2 separate regions of the Homo sapiens genome follow, and region 1 is linked to region 2. The links are contacts of gene promoters, found by promoter capture Hi-C in blood cells and fetal thymus (Javierre and others, 2016). All regions are on one chromosome and are shown on one strand. Each heading gives the region's core, a stretch centred on a gene start or on the middle of the fragment in contact. The rest is flanking DNA. Distances are from core to core; before and after follow the strand shown. Region 1 overlaps LOC124909361 (a long non-coding RNA gene). Region 2 holds the start of DYNC1LI1 (dynein cytoplasmic 1 light intermediate chain 1).

Region 1 (6,189 bases), core at 2,566-5,065, 200 kb after region 2:
TGTTTGTCTTTGCAAAGAGGCTGGAAGATTTTAATTTTTCCACAAATAGGATACTGATTGTTTCAACCTACTAAGACTACTGCTTTATCTTGTCTTTTAGTTAAAAATATTTATTTCCAGATTATGAATGTATTTTATGCTTACTGGAGAAAATTGGGAGAAATACAGAAAAACAAAATAAAAAATCACCTTGCGATCCTGCCACTCTTTACTACTCAAGTTTGCTCTGCCTTTTGTAAATTCAAAGTTACACCATAAACATTTTCTACTAAAAACTCCTTGTAAACAGTTTTCAGTGCCACTGATATTTTTGTGTGCACAACTTTTCTCCATCACGTATTTTTAGAAAGACAACATGTTAACTGATCTTCGATTTAATGACCAATCTAGCAACCACGGTTCAGCACAGCTTGAGAAGTGTATCTGTTAAAAATACAAAGTGGAGTCATTAATAATGGTGTTAGCCGATTCTGATTCTGAATAATCTTGGGAGGGGATATTGGGAGTACATTAATTTCTAAAGGCTCATTGAGTAGATGTAAGTACTTACTTCGGCTTTCTCCTACTGTTAGGGTTTTAGGCTGACTCCAGTTGTTTTCCCTGGATTAAAGACAGGATTAACATTTTTGTGCATGAATCTTAAACTCCTAAGAGATACATCCCCAAATCAAGGGAACAAACATATATACGGCTTTTCATATATAATGCCAAATAGATTTCTGGAAATGTACTACCTTATCCCCACACCTTGCAGTTTTCACCTGGTTCCTTTCCTCACAGTCCAGATGTTTTCAGTAAACTAGGCTGGAGGAGTTGGGACGGAGTGAGAAAATCTCAGTGCCAGCCCAAGCTATTCTAACTGAGTAACCATGGGCAAGTCATTGACAACTCAGTGGAGCCTCCATTGTCTCTACGAGATAAATGGAGCGATGGACACCTGCCTAATGTAAGGCAAAGATTTTTTTTTTTTTTTTTTGAGATGGAATCTTGCTGTGTTACCCAGGCTGGAGTGCAGTGGCACGATCTTGGCCTACTGCAACCTCCGCCTCCCGGGTTCAAGAGATTCTTCTGCCTCAGCCTCCCGAGTAGCTGGGATTACAGGCGCCCAACACCATGCCCGGCTGATTTTTTGTATTTTTAGTAGAGATGGGGTTTCACCATGTTGGCCAGGCTGGTCTCGAACTCCAGACCTCAGGTAATCCAACCGCCTCGGCCTCCCAAACTGCTGGGATTTACGTGAGCCACTGCGCCCGGCCAGGGCAAAGATTGAGGATCAACTAATATTATGTGTGAAACTCAAGTATAAAGTTGTAGGTCGAATTGTATGAAATTGCCATTTTTGTAGGACAGAGTCTAATAGTGACCATTTCACATGGCTAAACCTAGTACCGTATCATTAAATGGTTGGAGGTTATTAGGCCCCACAGCTCATAAACAGTCATTTCTATGTTCTAGAAACCTATGTACTGGTTGTGTGTTTTCCCAGGTACCCAGTTCATTAGCCACCTGGTAGCTGCTATTTATCAAGCACTGTTCTGACAATCATTTCTGGGTAACACAGATGCATCAGCTCTTCACTTCCAGGTCCCTGCTGGCCTCATCACCCAGCTGTAGCCTCCTGCATCTCCTGGCAGTCTCCCATCCCCACAGCTCTCATTTCACAGACCTCTCTTAAGCTTGCCCTCTCTATTGGTTTACCTCTATTGTCTTCTAACTCACCCTTCACGGTGTTCTAGGACTCTTCATTAACTTCCCAGTCTTTTCACTACAGTAGACATTTAATTGAACACATACTACATTCCAGGCACTGTGCTGAGCTCCAGAGGGAAGACGGGGATGAAACCTCACCTTCCCAACTCTCCAAAAGATCACAAACCAGATGGGATATAGGAGGTAATAAACAATTCAACAGCATGGCAGATGGGAGAAGGGCAAGAGTGGACATTTTTAAATATTCCACTTTTTTTCTTTTAAAATCAACTTTATCAAGCTATAATGTATATTAAAATACACCCATTTTACGTGAATAGTTTGTGAGTTTTGACAAATGTATACACCCATGCAATCCCCACCACAATCAAGATGTAGAATATTCCTGTCACCTCAGAACATCTCCGTGTGCCTCTTTGTAAGCCAACTGCTCCAGCCCTATTTCCAGGCAACCACTGATCTGCTTCCTGTCACTATAGCTTTGTTTTGCCTTTTCTAGGGTTTCATATAAATAGAATCAAATGATTTTTTTTGGTCTGGCTTCTTTTATTCAGCATAACGTTTTGGTGATTCATCCACATTGTTGCCTATATCAGTAGTTTGTTCCCTTTTATTGCTGAGCAGTATTCCATTGTAGAGATACACAATGTATTCATTCACCATTTGATAGCCATTTGGGTTGTTTCCAGTTTGGGGCAACTATGAATACAGCTGCTATGCATATTCTTGCTCAATATTTTTGTGGATATATTTCTCATGGGTGGATATCTAGGACTGGAATTGCTGGGTTACAAGTATTGTTTAACTTTGTAAGTAATTATACCATTTTACACTCCCACCAGCGGTGTATAAAAATTCCAGATGCTGCATAACCTCGCCAACACCTGGTATTTTTTTTTTTTAATTTACCCCTTCTAGAGGGTGTGAAGTAGTATCTCATTGTGGATTTAATTGCACCATATGTGATATCTAAGTTCTTTTTCCTAAATGCCAAGAGTTTAGGTCTAGTCCTCATTCTCAACGTTCTTTGGCACTTAATGCTCAACTTACCTAGAGAGAGAGAAGCCACCTCTCCAGTGACTATTTGCCTTTACGACAACACGGTGGAATTCTCCTAAGTTAAAATGGCTGGAGGCCAGATGGTTCATGTTCCTCCTCCACACTCAGCTTTCCTATTGCAATGGCCAAAGATAGGTCATGCGGTACTCCTTTGAGTACCCATCCTCCCAGCTCTTTCTTTTTCTAGGATTTTCCCACGCTATTGCCACCTTCAGCAATAACTTTAGGAAGGCCCGAGTCACTGTCAAATGGGCTTTCAAAATTTCCCTTTTTCTACCCTTCTACTGCTAAATAGCATTGGTGCTAAAGTTGGCTCCTCTCATCATCACTACCGTCTATACAGGCCCTTGTGGTGACTTGCTTGAAAGGTGTTTGCCAGGATGTCCTGAGTAATGGTTATGATGCCTGTTGTTGCAAGTAATGGAAATTAGTTTAAGTGGGCAGAATTGCTCATGTAATTGCAAAGTCAGAGCTTGGTAGCATTCAGGGCTGAATTGATTCAATGGTTCAATGATGTTATCATTGATGAAGTTTCTTTCCACCTCTTAACTCTTCGTTACTGTTAGCCTATGACTGGCTCCCCCTTGTGGTCACAAAATTTTTACAAACGACTTCCTGGCTACATATTTTCTCACCCAAGGAGAGGACTGTTGCTTCTAAGAGTTCCATCAAAAGAGCTGCAGGCCAGGGGCAGTGGCTCTCATCTGTAATCCTAGCGCTTTGGGAGGCAGAGGCAGGTGGATCGCTTGAGCCTGAGAGGTTGAGACCAGCGAAACCCTGTTTCTACAGAAAATACAAAATTAGCCAGGCGTGGTGACACATGCCTGTAGCCCCAGCTAGTCGGGAAGCTGAGGTGGGAGGATCATCTGAGTCCCGGGAAGTCTAGGCTTCAATGAGCCGTGATTCTGCCACTGCAACTCCAGCCTGGGTGACAGAGTGAGACCCTGTCTCAAAAGAAGAAGAAGAAGAAGAAGAAAAAAAAGAGTAAGCACGGATTTAATAATTCCACAATGTATACAAAAATCAAAACATCACATTGTGGCCAGGCACAGCTCATGCCTGTAATCCCAGCACTTTGGGAGGCTGAGGCACAAAGATCGTTTAAGCTCAGGAGTTCGAGACCAGCCTGGGCAATGTAGTGACACCTCATGTCTATGAAAAAAATAAAAAATTAACCAGGTGTGGTTGGTTGGTAGTAGACGACTGTGGTCTCAGTGGTCCCAGCTAGGCTGAGGTGAGAGGATTGCTTGAGCCCTGGAGGTTGAGGCTGCAGTGAGCCTATTATTGTGCCACTGTACTCTGGGTAACAGAGTGAGACCCTGTCTCAAAAAATATAAATAAATAAATAAAAAGTAAGAAAACCCCCCAAAGCCACATAACATTATAACCACAAAATACATGCAATTATTGTCAATTAAAACATTAAAAAAAGAAGGGAAATCATTTATTGAGCACCAATTGTGTGCCAGGTGCTTTAAATACATAATACATTAACACCAGCAGTTAATATGCTTGCTCTCCACACTTGCTAGCTAGATGACTTTTATAACATTTTATAAAATTGCTTAACCTCTTTGTACCTCAGTTTCCTCCTCTGTAAAGTGAGGATAATCTAGTATCTACTGCGCAGGGTTCCCCTTCTGAGAGTTAAATGAGATAATAGATGGAAAGCCCTTTAGTACAGTGCCTGGCATAAAGGGTCAATGTATATTAGATAACACACACGTACACAGCATGCCTCTTTCCCAGAACTCCCAAGCAAGCCGTGGGTCACATGACCATCTCTGAACCAATCACTGTGGTGGAGGAGGAGGGTGGTCTCATGCTGATGAGCTGAGGCAGAGCCGTAGGCTCCATTCCTAGAGTCCTAATGGAGTCGGCCTCTCACAAAACACTGGGGCTATAAGAGGGTGGTCTGGATACTGAATAAAAACTAGGGCAGTTTGAGAATATGAGGAGGAAGAAAAGATGCTGGGGAGGCAGCCACAAGGTTCCCTATGCCCTGGGTTCATTTAGCTATTCTGAATATTCTAGCAAAAACAATTCTGCCATAGATAGGAAAGTTTTCTCAAAACATATCTTCCAGATGGAATATCTTTTTAATCAGCACCTTTCTTCCCACTTACCTTCCTAAGTTTCTGAAAAGTCATCACTCTGTGATGCCAAGCACTTTCTCCCAAACCCTATCTTCTTTTACATATACCAAGAACCCAAGTTTATATACCCCCCAACTTATAACAACATGCATTATAATCTTCCCCATTATTCTAGGTCATCATCAACACTGGAAGTTATCTTACCTTCCTTCACAGCTGTCTGCTTACGATTCACATTTGGCAGCAGATGTTGCCAGCAGAACATTAATGTGCAGCCAAGTTAACAAACGCTCAGGCTGCCACCTTTCAGAGTGTGTGTGCTTGTGTGTGTGCGCGCATGTGCTTGCATGTATCATATGTCCAGATTTTTTTCGGTGAAAATTTATCTTTTCAATTAAATTTCAATAAAACCAATTTTTTCTGTGAAAACTCATCTTTTCAAAATAATAATTGTCTAGAAAACAAAAATATGGACTTTAAGTTGATTTTCTACCCAGGGCTGCATCTTCAGTTAGCATTTCTAAACGTCTACCTTCTATTACAGAGATATTTCATGTATTTATAATCTTTTGTGTGCTGATGCCCCGAAGGGATTTTCCTATGAAGGGAGCAACTTAAAAATAAAAAATAAATACTGATATCGAACATCCTCTTCTCTAGATTTTCTTGTAGTTTTCAAAGGTTGGCCAAATATTTATCTTTTGGGAGCAGTAAGTTGGAAATAGCAATAAAGAGAGATTAATTGCCTAAAGCACTTTATTGATTTGCCATGAGTGGGTAAATATATCAAGTTAAAAACTCACTCTGCTCCACCAAAGAGGACGTGAAGGTTTTGGAATGGCTGAGAGGTGAATGCAGATGGCAAGCGCAGATGGCAGAGATGAGTTTAAGTACCTTGTACACTATCCCTGTAATAATATTTTTCAAGCCCCCAGAAACCTATTTTTATGTTGACTGTATTGTGTGTGGCTTTGTTTTCTCTTGTTTTTTAAGAGAAAAAAATTAAAGCAAACCCAATTCACAACTTACAGCTCCAATCTGAACAACAGAGAATCATTTTGTTGTCTAAAAACCTACACTTAAAGCTTATTCATGAACGAAGTCTCAGTATTCAAAAGATGAAATAATAATTTCTTTTCAGTGAAAAATAAATGCTTTTTGCTGTTATTGTTTTAGTGAACTCTCAGGGTAACATAAAGGATCATGCTTCTGAAGAAACACCAATAAAGACAAGACAGCAAGTGCCCCTGCATGGACACAAACTAGGCATTGCTCTTTTGAAACAGATGCCTTTGGTGCTACCAGTTCAAGAAAGAACTAAAAT
Region 2 (6,027 bases), core at 2,460-4,959:
ATTTAGAAATCAGAATGGCTTTGGATTTCTCAATGGTAACACTAGAATCTAACAGATAAGGGGGCCAAGGCTTTAAAAACCTAAGGGAAGATAGCTTGTAACTCAAGAATTCTATACTTAACCAAACTATTATTAAGTGAGGGTAGATTAAATGCATTTTCAAACACAGGAGGTGTGCTAGATATCTTGTTTGCCCCTTGAGATCCTTCTCTATTCCCACTTTGTGCTCAGGGAGGTAGACCTGCATGGATTGCTTCACTTGGGTCTCTTGTCCTCTGGCTCCTGGTTGGGTTTGGTCAAAGGGCAACACTGGTGGGAGACCAGGGGGCAGAAAGAAAGGGATGGATACTGTGTTCCTTTACTGAAGACTATAAATCTTGGTGGGCAACACTTTCCTATAAGCTGCATCTCTCTCTGGATTCTAGTAAACATTCCTTCCTCTATCCCTTTCAAGCCTAAGGCTTCCTGCTGTTGCTAGTCCTATCTCTTCACACTGTTCACACCTTTGTAAACAGTCCCTTTATTAAGCTTTCCTCTAGCACCCCCTTAAGAATGCCATTTTTCCTCTGGTTGACCTTGACTGGATACACTGGTGTCCAAAGACTTACCAGTGAGCCTTTTTATCAGAAAACTATTGGGGGAAGTTCTCCACTAAAACAAGAAGACACAAGATTGAGGCAAAGGGAATCTTCTGAACAATGGTGAAAGATCACAGGATGACAGCTGTGTATTCAGTTTCAGAATAACCAACTCAGAATGGAGCAGGCTAGAAGGTTCTTAAAGGTGTCTTTAAGAAGGTAAAATTGTTAAAATACCTAACAAGGAGTTTTACACAGCTGGGACGGGAATTTGAAACTGAATTAAAGACATGGAAATCTAAGCAAATGAAAAAGAAGATGGTTGGCCGGGCGCAGTGGCTCACGCCTGTAATCCCAGCACTTTGGGAGGCCAAGGCGGGTGGATCACCTGAGGTCAGGAGTTTGAGACTAGGCTGACCAACAAGGTGAAACGCCGTTTCTACTAAAAATACAAAAATTAGCCAGGTGTGTTGGCAGGCACCTGTAGTCCCAGCTACTCGGGAGGCTGAGACAGGAGAATTGCTTGAACCCAGAAGGCGGAGGTTGCAGTGAGCCGAGATCGCACCAATGCACTCCAGCCTAGGCGATGGAGCAAGACTCCGTCTCAAAAAAAAAAAAAAAAAAAAGAAAAAAGAAAAACAAGATGGTTATTAATTTTAGATGTAAGAAAACATTGGGCAATAAAGAAAAAGCAATCATAGTATAGAAAACAGGTCAATTATAAAACAGCATTTATGCAACAAAAATTCCAAGGGACTGATGAATTATTTCCTTTTATAGACTTCCTCATAATATATAGCTTCCCTATTTTTGTAATGTAGAGGTTTTCACAGAAGGTATTTACCAGAATAGCATCTAAAATTACGAGGACATTTATTTTAACATGGTTTGGCCTAGGTCATTTTACAGACTAGACAGTAAAAAATCTCAGCTTATCTATAAACTTCTGATCTGTGTGACCTGGGGTAGGTTACTTAATTTTGCTGACCCTTACAAAGTATGAGGATTGCAAATACAACACACAGAGTGCCTGGCACATAGTAGGCATTCATAAATGACCACTTTTGTCAGCCACCTTAATGGAAGAATGCTGGATAGGGATATTATAAAACCACAAGGAATACAACTTTGACCTCAATTTAGGTGGGTAGTTGAGCATCTGGAAGTCATGAGGTGTTGAAGCCTGACACTATTATAAAAGTAAACACTTCTCAGACTAAGCAAATATGATATGGAACTGACAACAAAATTGAGGGGAAAATGCTCTGAGGAAGATGACTGAAAGAATAAAGTACAGAGTAAAATGGCTTTCAGAGGGGCCAAGAGCAGTATACAGCTCTCCTTTAGAACAGTAACATAAAGACTCAGCTTCTCCTGGGGGTCTCCATCCTGCTTTGTGCCACAGAAAGTGTAGGACTACTGGGGAGGGTTCTGGTTCCTTTCTTAAGTATATAAACAACAAAATCAAAAGTTTTATTTTATTTATTTATTTATTTATTTAGTGACAGGGTCTTGCTCTGTCATCCAGGCTGGATTGCAGTGGCATGATCACAGTTCACTGCAGCCTCGACCTCCTGGACTCAGGTGATCCTCCCACCTCAGCCTCCTAAATAGCTGGGACTATAGGCACACACCACCACGCTTGGCTAATTTTTTGTAGAGCCGGGGTTTCGCCATGTTGCCCAGGCTGGTCAAGAACTCCTGGGCTTAAGCAATCTGCCTGCCTTGGCCTCCCAAAGCGCTGGCATTACAGGTGACAAAGAATTTTAGCTCCAAGAGTTCTTTAGGCCCATCACTTCTAGAGGTTGGTCAGATATTAATGGTGTGAAAGGTAAAGAAAGTCATTGATAACAATTAACATGTGGTAAGCGCTTAAGATTTGCCAGTCGTTATTCTAAGCCATTTTACATGAATCATCCCGTTTAATCTCAATAACAACTCTAAGTTCTTTTATCCTCATTTGACAGATAAGGAAACTGAGACTCACGGAGGTTAAGTAAATTGCCTAAGGTTACACAGCCAGTAAACTCGAAGAGCTAGACCTGAACTCAGATTTGCCAGCCTCCAAAGGCTTCCAGACTTCTAACCGTAATGCTAATATATAGCAAATAGTCTTTAGTTGTGGATTTTCTCACTAGCATAACAGCATTGATCAGGCCATATTCTAGCAAGTGATTTTCAAATATGAAGTGACAGAGATAACATACAAAGGCCAGGCAATTTTAAGCAAATGCTCTTACAGGTGTACTAGGACAGAGCCTTAAAACCAATGACTCCTTCTAAACATGGAGTTCAGACATTCAAATACCTTTACCTAGTAAAGTTCTAATAGAAAAGGAGTTATTTTAGGGCTAGTATAAGTCCATCCATGTATTCCCAGTGTCAACTGTGCTCGACGTAGTAAGTGTGGAATCAATGTCTAGTGACCGGTTAGATGACCCGCATAGTGGATCTTTTCAAATCTCACATGGAGGATCTCATACAAAAACATTAAGAACATTAAAGCAAGCCCTGACAATAATTTTTAAAAAATAACAGTCTATTTCCAGGGTAAACAATTACTTTGTCACGCCGCTGCTTAGGGGCTCGGAGAACCTGCTTCTGATGTGGGTCCAGGTTGAGGAACACTTCGCCACTTGAGAACGCAAATAAAGTCCAGAAATCCAGGACCACAGCAATACTCCAGCCCAGGGTTGCAGGGCAGCCTCTTTACCAGCCGGGCGACCCATTTCTATCTTGGCGCCGGCGAAGCGCCGGTTTGGGCGGGGGACCGCTCTCAGCCTGAACAGTGGGTGGGCCGGCAATGACAATGCAGGAATTCCGCGCAGGCCGCAGGGTTTGGGGACCTGTCTGAAGGGTGGGAGGGAGCACTTTTCACCTGACACACCCAACCCCCCTGCCGCAGCCCAGGGCCGCGGATGAGCGGAAGGAAAGCACTTCCATACTGTCAGATCACTGGGCTTCAGTTGCAGCATAGCGGCCCACCCCGCCGCCCGCGTACGCTCAGCCCCTCAGCGCCGGCCAGGCAGCCACGCACGCGCAGTCCGTTCTCGCTCGCTCCATCAGTCCTGGCCCGGCCCGGGGCCCCGCCCCCGCAGGCCCCGCCCCGCTCCCGTGCGCTGAACGCCCCATATCCGGGTTCCCGCCGCCTCCACCGCCACCGCCTCAGCCGCCTCGCACATTTAGTCTTGCCGGGAGTGGTGTGATTCCCGACCAAGATGGCGGCCGTGGGGCGAGTCGGCTCCTTCGGTTCTTCTCCGCCGGGATTATCCTCGACTTACACTGGCGGCCCCTTGGGCAACGAGATAGCGTCGGGCAACGGTGGCGCCGCGGCAGGCGACGACGAGGACGGGCAGAACCTTTGGTAACGACTCCACCTCTCCCTCAGCCCCCGCTGGCTCCCCCGGCCTTGCGCGGACGCCTCGGGATCCCGTGCCCGCTGGAGCTCGGCGCCGGGCCCGGCCACTGCGTTCCCGGCAGCCCCATCCCCGGCGCGCCGAGGCCGGGTCCGTCCCTCCCGCGCTGCGGCTCCGGCCTCCGGCCTCACCGTACGCCTTGCTTCCCGTTAGGTCCTGCATCCTCAGCGAGGTCTCCACCCGCTCGCGCTCCAAGCTCCCTGCGGGGAAGAACGTGCTACTGCTGGGTAAGTGTTCCCTGCCTCGCCCCGCCCCGCCCGGCCCCCAGCGGCCCGGGGTACCTGGTCCGCGGGCTAGCTCGCTGGCTCTCTTTGTGCGGACAGCCGGCCCAGCCCCGCCCCGCCTCGCCTCCCGACCTGTCGCGGATGGCTGGGAGAGAAGGGGAACACGAGACCCTTGACCCAGGACCTGCGGGGACCCGCCCTCCCTCAGGTTCCTCCTCCTCCTCCCCGGTATATGGGGGTGGCCCTGACAGCTTCCCCTGGGAAGGACAGAATTCGATCGCTCATCTGAGGGATTCTCGTGGCCTGGGGTTTATCTAGAAAATGACAGGTTTTCTTTCATCACAAAAATTGGTAGCAGGAGGCTCTTTGCGAGAGCTGCAGCGCAAATGGCATGCCATTAATATTTAATAGCTGACTCTTTGTATAATTGACAGAAGCTAGAACTAAGACCTGGCGATAAATGTTCTTGATTCAGCGTTCTCTGGTACAATGTGCTCGTGTTGCAGCTACCTTAACTGTCACATATAATTCTGAAATTTGTAAAGGGCAGTAGAACACAACTTTCTAGTTAAGTCTTTTCAGCCAAATGGATGTAATAAGGAGAAACGGTCCAGTGTCAGTTCTCCTGATTGTTCTGTATCTCCTCGGCTCTCTGGAAGTTGTGTATTCTGTTTCTTTAGTGACTCTGGGGGTGGGGATAGAGGACTGAGGGAGAATAGTTCGCAGATTCGCATTTTTCTAGGCTTAGCTCCTGAATCATTTATAGGAGAAATTTCTCTATATAGCTCTTTACATGCGAGATAACTGAAGTTTGGCTTATACGATGATTAAATTTAAAAACTTTGGTATTTGGTGTCGGCTCAATACCAGAGTTTTTTGTTGTTGTTGTTGTTGTTTTGGTTATATCCATCTAAAAACAGGAAACAAGAAGTCAAATACTACTTGATAGGCTGCGTGGTTAAATATGAATGTTTACATAGAAAAAATTACTTTTTTAATAGACTGCTGCCAAGCAAGAATATATGATTATTGATATTCTTTAAAGCTACATGGAGCTAGTTGAAAAATTAGTTTTTACCCTTGTTTTTAATGTGGTTGAAAGCACCTACTGAAGATTAGCCTGGATTGAGTCACTGCCCTATCACATATAAGCCCTAGGATCTTAAGCAAGTTGCTTGACATCTATAAACCTCAGTTTCTTCATCTTTAAAATGGTTGTTATAGAAATAATAATACTTGCCTCTAGGGTTGTGGCGGGAATCAAATGAGTTAATGTTTGTATCGTGGTAATATTTGCAAGTGATACTTTGTCATGGATTTATCTTAAACTGCATTAGAAAATATTTGTGATCAGAACTTTTTAAAAAATTGAATTAGTGCCTACATAAGTGATATTCATAGGGCAAAAATAAATTAGGATCCAAAAGCAAAAAAAAATTGTATAATATATTTTTAGTTTACTAATTTAAACAAATTACTACTCATTTCTAAGGTAAAATGGATTTAAGCTCATATGACCTCATTGAAATTGATTCTATTTTAATTAAATATTTGGAAACACTGTCATGGTAAAGGTAAGATTCAGTAGTTTTGTTCTTATTTTATACATTTTGTCCAGTTATTTCTGCACATTAGATATTGTGTAGATGATTCTGTTTATGGTAAAACAAAAGTGGCAGTTTTGTTCATTTTTTGGTATACCTAATTTGCACTGAGGTTGTGCCATTTTTTTTTTAACACCCCTTTGACACTGGGTCTGTGCATGGGACTGAGTGTTCTTAGAGGTCCCAGCCTCCTTCACTCCACCAT

The links. Contacts are between HindIII fragments. The CHiCAGO score rates a contact against its expected background, and 5 or more counts as called.
Region 1: a contact is called between a fragment that was not itself captured here and the fragment with the promoter of DYNC1LI1 in region 2, in 1 of 17 cell types (neutrophils). The highest score is 5.3, in neutrophils.

Annotation. Positions count from the first base shown.
Region 1 is chr3:32,372,409-32,378,597 of GRCh38, reverse strand. LOC124909361 (a long non-coding RNA gene) reads right to left here. Exons shown (of 2, transcript XR_007095859.1): 1 at 551-6,189; 2 at 95-423. Among named protein-coding and RNA genes, the nearest start is that of CMTM7, 16 kb to the left of the region's middle. The HindIII fragment of the contact is 4,274 bases long and covers 1,679-5,952 here.
Region 2 is chr3:32,568,540-32,574,566 of GRCh38, reverse strand. DYNC1LI1 (dynein cytoplasmic 1 light intermediate chain 1) reads left to right here and starts at 3,709. Exons shown (of 13, transcript NM_016141.4): 1 at 3,709-3,942; 2 at 4,148-4,221. The coding sequence starts at 3,797. RefSeq lists silencers at 3,512-3,771, 3,952-4,441 and an enhancer at 3,716-4,501. The HindIII fragment of the contact is 15,701 bases long and covers 531-6,027 here.